2 separate regions of the Homo sapiens genome follow, and region 1 is linked to region 2. Evidence: promoter capture Hi-C in 16 types of primary human blood cells and fetal thymus (Javierre and others, 2016). All regions are on one chromosome and are shown on one strand. Each heading gives the region's core, a stretch centred on a gene start or on the middle of the fragment in contact. The rest is flanking DNA. Distances are from core to core; before and after follow the strand shown. Region 1 holds the start of DANT2 (DXZ4 associated non-coding transcript 2, distal). Region 2 holds the start of WDR44 (WD repeat domain 44).

What was found. Contacts are between HindIII fragments. The CHiCAGO score rates a contact against its expected background, and 5 or more counts as called.
Region 1: a contact is called between a fragment that was not itself captured here and the fragment with the promoter of WDR44 in region 2, in 1 of 17 cell types (M2 macrophages). The highest score is 6.4, in M2 macrophages.

The regions. Positions count from the first base shown.
Region 1 is chrX:115,965,194-115,970,862 of GRCh38, reverse strand. It overlaps DANT2 (DXZ4 associated non-coding transcript 2, distal), which reads left to right and starts at 1,752. Exons shown (of 2, transcript NR_132337.1): 1 at 1,752-1,902. RefSeq lists enhancers at 3,086-3,662, 3,663-4,240. The HindIII fragment of the contact is 2,746 bases long and covers 1-2,666 here.
Region 2 is chrX:118,341,627-118,347,953 of GRCh38, reverse strand. It overlaps WDR44 (WD repeat domain 44), which reads right to left and starts at 1,848. Exons shown (of 20, transcript NM_019045.5): 1 at 1,374-1,848. The coding sequence starts at 1,450. RefSeq lists enhancers at 1,173-1,716, 2,258-2,307, 2,498-2,617. The HindIII fragment of the contact is 5,332 bases long and covers 1-5,006 here.

The sequences.
Region 1 (5,669 bases), core at 44-2,543, 2.4 Mb after region 2:
AAGGCTGTGACTTGATTCTGTGTCAGGCAATGGCCATTCCTACATTAAATAAAGGAGGAGAAAAACAGGGAGGCATCCAGAGAGGTGCAGCTGAGATTCATAGCCCAATTCTTTCTCGGCTAATTCCACCTGGGAACCAGAGGGAAGCTCTTTCCACTTTCCATTTTCTACAACGTGGAATTGTGGCAGAGTCTTAACCCCTCCCTCAACTCTCCCCTAAGCCGGTGAAGGCATCTGTCTGACCAGAACAAAGTATTACCTATGCCCATTTATTCTCTTTCCCCTACCTCCTGGTAATTCCCACCCACCTCTGCCCAAACAGCAAGGGAATGAGTAAGAGAAGAGGTTTGGGAGTATCTGGCCAGCAGGTGGTCTTGGGGTGGGGTGGGGATGGGGGACTGAGAGAGTGAAGGTCAGTTGGTGGGGAGTGAAATGGAGGCAGAAAATTCTAAGGAGTTGGAGGCGGTAAAAGTGCAGTTGTACCCTCCTCAGGTTGGTGTAGAGGCCTTGGATTTCTTTTTAAAGTGTTTCTTTTAAGGTGGGTGTACTGGGGAGTGGACCTGGGCAGCGGTGACTTTGGTTCTCACTTGAAACACTTATTTGTAGGGAAAACATTCCTTAAAATTTTTCTTCAGAAAAATTTTTGTAAAAGTCCATCAGGTCCTAAAACATTGGGTTTGTGAAACAAAAAATAATAGTAAAAGTCCATCAAATACTATATTATGAATAGAAAATTAAATGGGTCCACAAAAATATCTTCGCAATCAATAGGTTGGCAACTGAATAGCGTGCATGCTTCCCATGGGTCTTGGGAGCTCACCAGACTATTATTTTAAAAGGATCTTTATTTGCATCTCTCCCTCCAACTTAAGAAATCAGGTGCTAGAAGGATGTACGCCCCAATTTAACAGTCCTCTGAGTGGTGTCATCACGGGTTATCTTCGTTTTTCTTTATGCACTACAGGTGTCTTCATTCTGCGAATATTATTTTGCAAGACAAAAGTGTTCCTTTTTTTTTTTTTTTCAAAAGAAAGAAGATATCAGGGCACTGGTCAGACAGGGGAAACCTTCGAGTCGCTGTCACTCTTTCGGACGTAGCATTTCATCACCCACCTAGGCAGCGTGTGCGCCAAACAGCAGCATCCCCTGGAATGGCCGCAGAAGCAGCACTGGGCCCCTAACAGTTCCAGACAAAAATCAGGGAGTGATAGGGCACCGGCAGTGTCTGGTCTTGGGAACCACACATTTCACTCCCCACCAACTGACCCCACACTCTCAGCCCCATGCCCCTACCCCAAGACTACCTGCTGGCCAGATACTCCCAGACCTTTTCTCTTACTCATTACCTCTCACCTGGGGAGGGAGCAATTGAGGCTTTTAGTAACCTCAGTCAATGTAATGATACAAACTTATCGGTTGAAAATATGCATATTTAAATTTCTTTTACGTCTAAATGTTTTGCGAATATTGAACTATAGATATTCCATTGTATTGTTCTGACTCAATCATCGTTTGCCCCCTAGCAACAAGTACCTTATTCTAAGGGAAAGAAATAGATTCTACCGAGCAACTGGCCAAGATGAAAGATTTCCCACCTGACTTTCCGTAGCCCACCTCTCCCGGCCCTTTAAGCACCTACGACTGGCTTAAGATGTCCCACTCCTCCCCTGGGCGGAGCCGACACCACACAACCCGGATTCCCAACACCTCCCCTTCCTCTGACCTTCAGCTTCCACCCCCTCTGGGGAACAGGAGACACAGAAGATGGAGGGAGGGATGGCAGCCTACCCTGTGGCAACGCGGGAGTCGCGTTGCCGCAGGGGGCGCATTGGGGTCCAGCCGTCCCCAGAACGCAGATCAGAGGTAGTCGGACCTTTCCCGCTGGCGCGCAGCCTCAGCTAGGTAGGTCTCCTTCCTTCGTCTTTCCTTTCTTTGCCTTTCCTTTCCCTGACGCTGGGGGAAGTAGGGCAGGGGTTCTGTGCCATAGGCGGCCTTTCTGGTGCAGAGGACCTTCCCCATCCTCCATCATGTGAGCAGCCAGAGCCGGGCGCTCGAACTTGCGCAATGGTGGCTGCCGCACCACCGGCTCGGGCGTCAGGCAGTTATCTGGGAGTCCCCGAGGGCCGAGTCGGGGCCATGTGGGCGGGTCGGGGTCTTGCGTTTTTGGAGCACTGAGTTTTTAACCCCTGCCTACGTTTTCAGTTCTGGCAAGTGTAGGGAGAGCCTCCTAGCAGAGTCCCTCTAGCCTTCCTCGTCGGTTGGCCTGGAAGCGTTTCTGTGTGGCCAAAGGGCGGGGCGAACAGGAGGAGAAGGGTGCGCACACGGATTCCTTCACCCACTCGAGTTCTCCCCACCTACGTGGCTGGAGGAGGGTGCGCGTGCTCTGTGGGTTTGGACTGAGTGGTGGTTAAACCTCATGGCCGCCGTGCGTGCTCACAAGTGCTGGGCTCCCTTGAATGTACCCCTAAAGAGGGTACATTTCCTCGGATGAAATTTTGGCCTAAAAGCAATACAGCTCCCTTTCTACGTACGCATTTAAAGACATGGAAAGAGACCCCCCCCCCCAGATTTTCAGGGGCTCGCTCACATTTTCATCTTTTTTCAGTTCTGTGAAATGGGAGGATCTGAAACGGCCATGATTATTAAGAAAAAGAAAGAATGAAGCTTCTTAAATAAGTATCAAAAATTACAAAAGATAGTGGTAATAATACAAAATATAAGCTCAACAAATTATATGTAGACAAAAAAAGTCCAAAAGGAAAGAAGACACAATTGTCACAGTTATACTGGTTATTTCTAGATGAAGATGTTAAGAGTGTTTGTGTGTTCGCTCTTGTTGTGCTTTGTGTTTCTTGTTATTGATACTAAGGCAAAAGTTTGGCCTTATTTCCAAAATTAGAAAAACTGACCAAAGTTCTATGGAGATTTGATTGCATGAGAGGTCATTTCGCATAGTGAATTGCACTGTGTTTTAAGTGGGATTATAACCATTTTAACGGTAAAGAAAACAAAGCAATTGCACCAGAACATGTGGTTTTACATTCCTTGTGAGATGGCATTTGGCTATCTGCATGTGTAGGACAAATTCTAGCAAGAAAATAGTGTGATTACTTGAGAACACTTGAGAGGAGCCAGAACCAAGATGGGTCAGGAAATAGTAGGTAGTACAGGTTCCTCAGAGGGGGACAGGTCATGGTTGGAAATTGATAATATGTGAAAAATTATACAACAGTGTAGTTTTTGTTTTGATTTCCCTTCTTATGAGTCGCTAAAAGATATTTTTGTATATTTTAAGATCCTTGTATGTCTTTTTCTGTGGACTCTTAAAGTCTATTTCTGTTGGGGTAAGGGGAATTGAACAGGCACTGTTACACATTCTGAGACCTGGCTCTACAGGAAAGGATGCTCAGGGGACCCTTGGCATTCAGTGAGGCATGTGTGTGTGTGTGTGTGCGCGCGCGCGCACACACACACACACACACAGTAGAATCACCGTGCTAGAGCCACACACACACAAACACAGTAGAAACACAATGCTAGAGCCAGACACACACACACACACACAGTAGAAACACAGTGCTAGAGCCAGACACACAGACGGAACACAATTCTAGAGCCAGAGACAGGCAGACAGACACACACACACCGCGCGCGCGCACACACACACACACACACACACACGGAACACAATGCTAGAGCCAGAGCTGCCAGGTCGTGGTCGCTGACTGTGAAGGCAGACACCAGGCTGTCTAGTGGGGTCCTTGCAAGAGCTCGAGTCTGCCATTTTCTAGGCTCATGGGAGATGTAGGAACTGTGGCAGTTCAGCTGCATAACACATCAGCATCTGGAAAACCTCACGCAGGCAGTCTTTGGCCCTTTCTGAGCCATGACTCTGTGTGCCTGGATTCCTGATTTATGCAGCTCAGCACTAGGCAGAGTGTGCAGGGATTTCTTCTTGGCCACCAGGATGATAGGCACATTCAATCAAAAGTGTTTGGGAGGTATCCCTGCAGGTTGGTTATTTTGTGTCTCCATTTTCATTGATTTCAATTTTTTTAAGTGTTTATTTATTGGCAACTGAAATTTTTTGAAATTTTTTCCATAAGTTATTGGGGTCACAGGTAGTATTTGGTTACATAGTAAGTTCTTTAGTGGTGATTTGTGAGATTTTTGGTACACCCATCACCCAAGCAGTATACCACTGCACCATATTTGTAGTCTTTTATTCCTCGCCTCCCTCCCACTCTTCTGCACAAGTCCCCAAAGTCCACTGTATCATTCTTATGCCTTTGTGTCCTCATATCAGTGAAAACATGATGTTTGGTTTTCCATTTCTGAGTTACATCATTTGGAATAATAGTCTCCAATCTCATCCAGGTCACTGCAAATGCTATTAATTAATTCCTTCTTATGGCTGCATAGTATTCCATCAAATATAACACAGTTTCTTTATCCACTTGTTGATTGATGGGCATTTGGGTTGGTTCCACGAATTTGCAATTGTGAACTGTGCTGCTATAAACATGTGTGTGCAAGTATCATTTTTGAATAATGACTTCTTTTCCTCTGGGTAGATACCCAGTAGTGGGATGGCTGGATCAAATGGTAATTCTACTTTTAGTTCTTTAAGAAATCTCCACACTGTTTTCCGTAGTGGCTGTACTAGTTTACATTCCCACCAGCAGTGTAGAAATGTTCCCTGTTCACTGCATCCATGTCAACATCTACTGTTTTTTTATTTTTTTATTATGGCCATTCTTGAAGGAGTAAGATGGTATTGCATTGTGGTTTTGATTTGCATTTCCCTGAGCATTAGTGATGTTGAGCATTTTTTCATATGTTTATTGGCCATTTGTATATCTTTTAAGAATTATCAATTCATGTCCTTAGCCGACTTTTTAATGGGATTGTTTTTTTCTTACTGATTTGAGTTCATTGTAGATTCTGGATATTAGTCCTTTGTCAGATGTATAGATTGTGAAGATTTTCTCCCACTCTGTGGGTTTTGTGTATACTCTGCTGACTGTTCCTTTTGCCATGCAAAAGCTCTTTAGTTTAATTAGGTCCCAGCTATTTATCTTTGTTTTTATTACATTTGCTTTTGGGTTCTTGGTCATGAAATCCTTGCTTAAGCCAATGTCTAGAAGGGATTTTCCAATGTTATCTTCTAGAATTTTTATAGTTTTGGTCTTAGGTTCAAGTTCTTAATCCATCTTAAGTTGATTTTTGTGTAAGGTGAGATATGAGGATCCAGTTTCTTTCCTCTACATGTGGCTAGCCAATTATCCCAGCACCATTTGTTGAAAAGTGTGTCCTTTCCCCACTTTGTTTTTGTTTGCTTTGTCGAAGATCAGTTGGCTGTAAGTATTTGGGTTTATTTCTGGGTTCTCTATTCTGTTCCATTGGTCTATGTGCCTATTTTTATACCAGTATCACGCTGTTTTGGTGACTGTTCTTATAGTATAGTTTGAAATCAGGTAGTGTGATGCCTCCAGATTTGTTATTTTTGCTTAGTCTTGCTTTGGCTATGTGGGATCTTTTTTGATTCCATATGAATTTTAGGATTGATTTTTCTAACTCTGTGAAGAATTATGGTAGTGTTCTGGTGGAGATTGCATTGAATTTATAGATTGCTTTTGGCAGTATGGTCGTTTTCAAAATATTGATTC
Region 2 (6,327 bases), core at 599-3,098:
CGGAAGTCCAATACATTTCAAAACCCAAATGTATTTCCTATGCTCTACACCTAGCTCTAAACTTGTCTCAGATATTGAACTTGAAGGAGATTCGGTGTCATCTCAAGATTGGCCACTGCCACCCCAAAATCCCACAACAGTGACATGAAGGTTGGTGGAAAGACAAACATCTGAAATCTACCAACGTACATTGCTTTCTGATTTTATTACTGTAACTTTTTGGTGCATATTGTGTATAAACATACATTAGTTTTTAGAATGACTTCTAGCATGCATGGCTAACTATACTTGCATCACAGCGGGTTATTACTCCCACGGAGTAAGTGTGAGAATTGAAGGCAGTGAACTTCTCGAACCATATTAGTCCTTTATACTAACATCTACATTTTACCAATCCTCAAGTTCTTACAGCATGAAAATATATTTCACTGCCTCTATTTCCACGTACATTCGTAGGGGAGTTCGGCGAAATCGCTTTAAAGCACTACCCCAACTTTGAAAAGTGGAGAAGTGGGTAAGTAAATACAAGTCCTAGTCAAGCGAGCATTCCAACTACTGTACTTCCTATTCAGAATCACCCATATTAATCACCACTAAAACATCTTGCAGAATTAGATAAAGAACACAAAGCTGGGGCTCTCCTTCCAATCACCAGATTACTCAGCACTTGTTTGTCCCTCTGCAGTCAGTTGTGCACATTTCTTCTGTCTGGCCATCCTTTTAGACCGCATTCTGCCTAATAGGGACCGTGTATTCGATTTCCTTTACCTCACGATAAGGTGTTATTTTAATAAAACACTGTTGATCTAGAGTACATTCGCTAGAGGACTTTCTTAAGCAAATACCCAACCTTCCCCCCGCTCCTTTTCGCTGTGTGCAAGAAAAAGAGGACGGCAAATAGGGGAGAGTTACAGCCACCTCTGAAGTGAATAGGTAAGTTAGCGGTAAACGGGAGAATAAAAAACTACAAGTTACATTTCTCCTGTTACTGCTCCTTTAATCTACGGTCCCCGAGGCCAAAACGGATGTTTGAAAGGTAAGCTCAGAACCCCACAGATACAAATCTCCGACTCAGGCACGTAAGCTGTTCCCCCTCACAGAAGGCTGGATCAGAAGAGAAACGGGCTCCGAGACCGACCCTGGGACCGTTCAGTAGGGAAACGGCCGGGAGGCTGCCCGAGGTGGCTGACTCCCCCTTCTCCGAGTCACCCCGCCCTAAGAAGCCCCAGGTCTGGGTTCTGAAGTCCTCCAGTGAGACGGGGAGGAACAGCGGTGGCGGACACAGCGGGACCTGGGAGGGGTGTAGGGGGAAGACACAGGAGATGCGGGGGGCTTGGGATGCCCGGCTTCCTGTCATAGCTGCAGTCACTTACCCCACGGGGTAGCCGCCCCCTAGGTGCACATCTTCAGGGGCATCATAGAATTCCTCGGTGTCGCTTTCCGACGCCATTTATAGGACACACCCGCGGGTGAGGGGGCCGGCGCCGCCTGGAGGAAGGGTGACTCTTGTCTCCTCCTCGTCGACCTCCACCCGGGCGAGACTGGGGAAGTGGGTCTCGGGCGAGGCTGAGGGAGCAGACGATCTGTAGCGAGGAGACTGTTAAGGAAAGGGGGCCGCCCTCAGTTGCCGGGCTTCGGGAATGACCGGCAAAGCGGCCGCCTGAAGAGGCGGCGGTTGGTCCAGGGAATGTTGCTGCCACCGCTCCCAGTGATAGGTGTATAAGGAGCGCGAAAGAGGCGGTGGCTCCTCGCAGTAAGGGAAGAAGGGCGCGCCGGCTACAGCGGCTCCAGTTTCTCCCGCAGCAGCAATTTACAGCAGCTGGAAGAGCTAGTTGCCCGCAAAATACCGACGCGCACCTACCCTCGCGAGATTTCGGAGGGGCGGTAATACGTGGGCGGGGCGAAGAGGTGGCGGGGGCGGTTCCAGAGAGGCAGCGCTCCGATTACTTCGGCCCGAGAAGCCTATCAAAACGGCGCAAGCGCGTTGAGGGCGTTCGGTGAGGGCCGGAAGTAGCCGAGAAGGGAGGGGGTGAGCCTCCCGAAGGGAGGAGTCTAGGACCTGCGCAGGAGCAGCGTGGTGCCCTGGCTCTGAGAGCGCGCGGCCGACGTAGGTGGGGTCAGGCAGAAAGTCTTACTCCCTAACTCTGCAGTTCCAAAGAGACGCGTTTTGAGAGGGGTGATTTTGAGTCGGTCTTTTACTTGTAAAGAAATACTCTCGGGAAACGTTGGTGTGGACATTTTGGCGTATATTTACGATGTCTTACTATCCAAGCCCGGAATGTCCCACCCTAGGGCGTCGGCAGGTCCACCACCTCTGGCGTTACGAGAATAACTCGCCCTTATTCACTACGAGATCTCTAATTGAGATCCCTAGATATGATCCTGCCGGCCAGAGGGTGGGGTCCTTGAGATATACACGGGGAGTGTGCCAGTTCCATGGTGTAATGATGGATTTATTGCTGGAGCTGAGCCAGTATTAGGCCTCCGGTTACTTTTTCTCCGCACATGTCTGTCGCTGCCAACACAGTGTGAGAGAAGTTCTTACATACTGCCCAAGATGTGCGTCAGCTAAATGGTAAATATTTATTGAGCAGATATCATTGCAAGCCTACGAGCTAATGGCTTAATTCTGATCCTCAACTGCCCAGCGTCCGGTGATAAAAATAGAAAGGTACTTTTTAAAAAACCGAGATGTTCCTTCTTAAACCACGGGTCATTGACCATCAAGGTGATAACATTGACTTTCAGTATGATCACACAGCATATTTATTTCTCCAACTGACATCATGATAGGCATTTTGAGCTGTTCGTGCAGCCTCAATTAGTATTCAAGAAAAGGCTGGATTGGAGCCAGGGGTATGGTCTCAGAGAAACTGGAAAGGGGCTCTAGACTTTGTCAAGCAATCAGGGCAAGGTCTGCTGTGGTCTAGTGGACTTGGGTAAAAACCAAATGTCATATACTGTATATTCTATAATACCCCAGGGAGTTTAGGGAAAACACTGCGTAATCAAATATATTAATATTTTTGCAGCAAGATATATGATTGTTCATACGGGATAAATAAATACAAGTAAATAGCCTCATTCAGTTTGAGTCAGACGCTTCTGCCAAATAAGTTTAAGATAGATCTATTTGACTGTCAAATAAATTACTAAAAAAAAAAAAAAACAGAAACTTGGTTTCCAGAGCTTTTGAAGTTTCAGAATTGGAGACAAGGGATTTGTGGATCCTTGTGAGGGTATGACTTTTGTCAAACCTAAAAATTATTAGGTTTTATGTGTCTTAAACATGTTAATTAACTTCCTAGGTATAAAAATGTAACTCAAAGTACTAACTTTTAAAAACGTTTTGCTCACTAAGATAGGTTTTTTTGTTTTCTTTTTGGATTATGGAAAGATACCAGATATAAGGTAGGGAAATATATATTTATGGAAAGATGTTAACTACCTGAATGTATTCTCTTCCTAGATATCTAATAGTGAATTTATGGCTTCCAAAGAAAAAAAAGTTAGTTTTCTCTATATGATAGAGGTGTTAGTTCCAGGCGCGGTGGCTCACGCCCGTAATCCCTGCACTTTGGGAGGCCGAGGCAGGCGGATTTCTTGAGCTCAAGAGTTTCAGACCAGCCTGGGCAACATGGTGAAACCCTGTCTCTACAAAAAATTCAAAATTTAACTGGGTGTGGTGGCATGTGCCTATGGTCTCAACTACTGTGGAGGCTGAGGTGGGAGAATCGCTTGAGCCCAGGAGGTTGAGGCTACAGTGAGCTGAGATAGCACCACTACACTCCAGACTGGGCAGCAGAGCCACACCCTGTCTCTCACACACACACACAAAAAACAACAGCAACAACAAAAACAAAATGCCGTGTGTGGAAACCAGTCGCTCAGTTCAGTAAACATATACAATTTGGTGTCATGAAGCGTTCTAGATGCTGAGGACAATTGACAGATTAAAAAGACAACTAGATCCGGCGCGGTGGCTCACACCTGTAATCCTAACACTTTGGAAGGCCGAGGTGCGCAGATCACTTGAGGTCAGGAGTTCGAGACCAGTCTGGCCAACATGGCAAAATCCTGTCTCTACTAAAAATACAAAAGTTAGGGGGGCGTGGTGGCACTTGCCTGTTGTCCCAGCTACTCGGGAGGCTGAGGTAGGAGAATTGCTTGAACCTGGGAGGCGGAGGTTGCAGTGAGCTGAGATCCCGCCGCTGCATTCCAGCCTGGGCGACAGAGGGAGACTCTGTCTCAAAAACAACAACAACAACAACAACAAAAACAAAACAGAAAAAGACAACTTAAGTTTCTGCCTACAAAAAGCTAATAATCTAGCAGTGGAGACAAATACGGAGTCCTAGTTTGGTGCTCTGTTTTTTTTCAATATACCATATCAGCTCTCTTGGACCTTTTAAGCTGCCTTAAACATTATACTTAGAAAAAGGTAAAATGGATAGGAATGATAAACTGGTAACATTTTTAGAGCTTTTAAAGTTTCCGTTTAAATGCTTTTATCAATTGCATGAGAAAGCCAATTGCTAGAATGAATTGCTGGAAACGTTAAAACACATATAAATACTGCCCATCGTCACTTTTTTTTGTTTTTTTTTTTTTTGAGATGGAGTCTCGCTCTGTCGCCCAGGCTGGAGTGCAGTGGCTCGATCTCTGCTCACTGCAAGCTCCGCCTCCCGGGTTCACGCCATTCTCCTGCCTCAGCCTCCCGAGTAACTGGGACTACAGGTGCTAGCCACCACGACCGGCTAATTTTTTTGTATTTTTAGTAGAGACGGGGTTTCACCGTGTTAGCCAGGATGGTCTCGATCTCCTGACCTCTTGATCCGTCCGCCTCGGCCTCCCAAAGTGCTGGGATTACAGGCGTGAGCCACCGCGCCCGGCCCCATCATCACTTTTAAAGATGTAAAAGATGTGTTTATTTTGCCTGAAATATCAGTTCTTGAGTTTTAAAGCAGCAGATTTTAGGTATCATCCAAGGCAGTGGTTTTGAAGCTTTTCTCTGTATTAGAAATGGAACCTTAATCAAACTTAATTTTATGCAAAAGTCGATATAGTATACAAATAAAAACTGCTCTATTTGAAACAGGGTTTCAAAGTTGAGGTCCCTGTCTGTTTGACCTTCCTTGAATCTCCGGAGACTGTCCTAAGGCCCGATAAAAAAAAAGAACAAATGAAAAACTATTGGTCCAAAGCAGAGGTTGGCAAATTATGGTCCACTGGACAAATCTGTCCCACTCTCTGTTTTTGTAAATAACATATTGTTGGAACATAGCCAGGACTATTTGTTTATATATTGCACATGGCCGCTATCATGGCAGAGTTGAGTAGCTGGGACAGAGACTGTGTGACCCACAAAGCCTAAGCCTAAGATATTTACTATCAGGCCGTTTTTACAGAAAAATTTTCAGATCCTTGGTCCATAAGATACTATTTTCTAGGGTACCTCAGAACTAAAAATACCCTCAAATTAAATGGTTTCAGCAGATCATATGATGCTGCAAAATCATGTGTGTAGATAAAAATAAGAATAAAACCTTCCCTACCTGGCTCATTCCCAATGACTATTAAAATTTCATACATCTAAGGGTAAGGTGGGTTTAAGGAAAATTTTTATGCTTAACTAAATTCCTTATCTGCATAGCAAATACTCTACTCTCCAAAGACTAGAGGTCACAGCCACTGTATGGAACAACTTATCTGTGGGATGTTCATTCTCTCCTCTTGGCAAGAATAATACAAACTGGCAACATCCTTGAGGCTAATTTTGCCGCAACCCCAAGGGTAACCAGTCACTCAGAACATCAGTGTTCCAAGTACATCCTAATGCATGTAGCCTTTTGTTACAAGCAAGAGCTAAAGTGATAACTCAGGAAAAATAATTTTTTATGTACAGTGTTAGGTGATTTGAGACATAATGTTGACAGGAAAAGATTAAATATTACTCACTGTGTTGCCCAGGCTGGTCTTGAACTCCTGGCCTCAAGTGATCCTCTTGCCTTGGCCTCCCAAAGTGTTGGGATTACAGGCGTGAGCCACTGTACCTGGTCTACAACCTGCAACCCTTCTGATACCTACTTCCACAAGCAAATTTCAGGTCTTTTTCAAAGTAAAGTACCATCTTTACTGTAGCATTTATGTATTTCCTAATCATTTTACATGTGTAAAACTGTGCTGCCATTTTTATTAGGTTCATATCTTTTTGTGTATATATCACTGATGAAATTTTTGAATGTTGTGCCCCTACCCCATTTTCCCCATAAGCCTTGTGGTTTTTATTGAACAATTTTGCATAGCAGAGTGATTTTTAGGAATGCT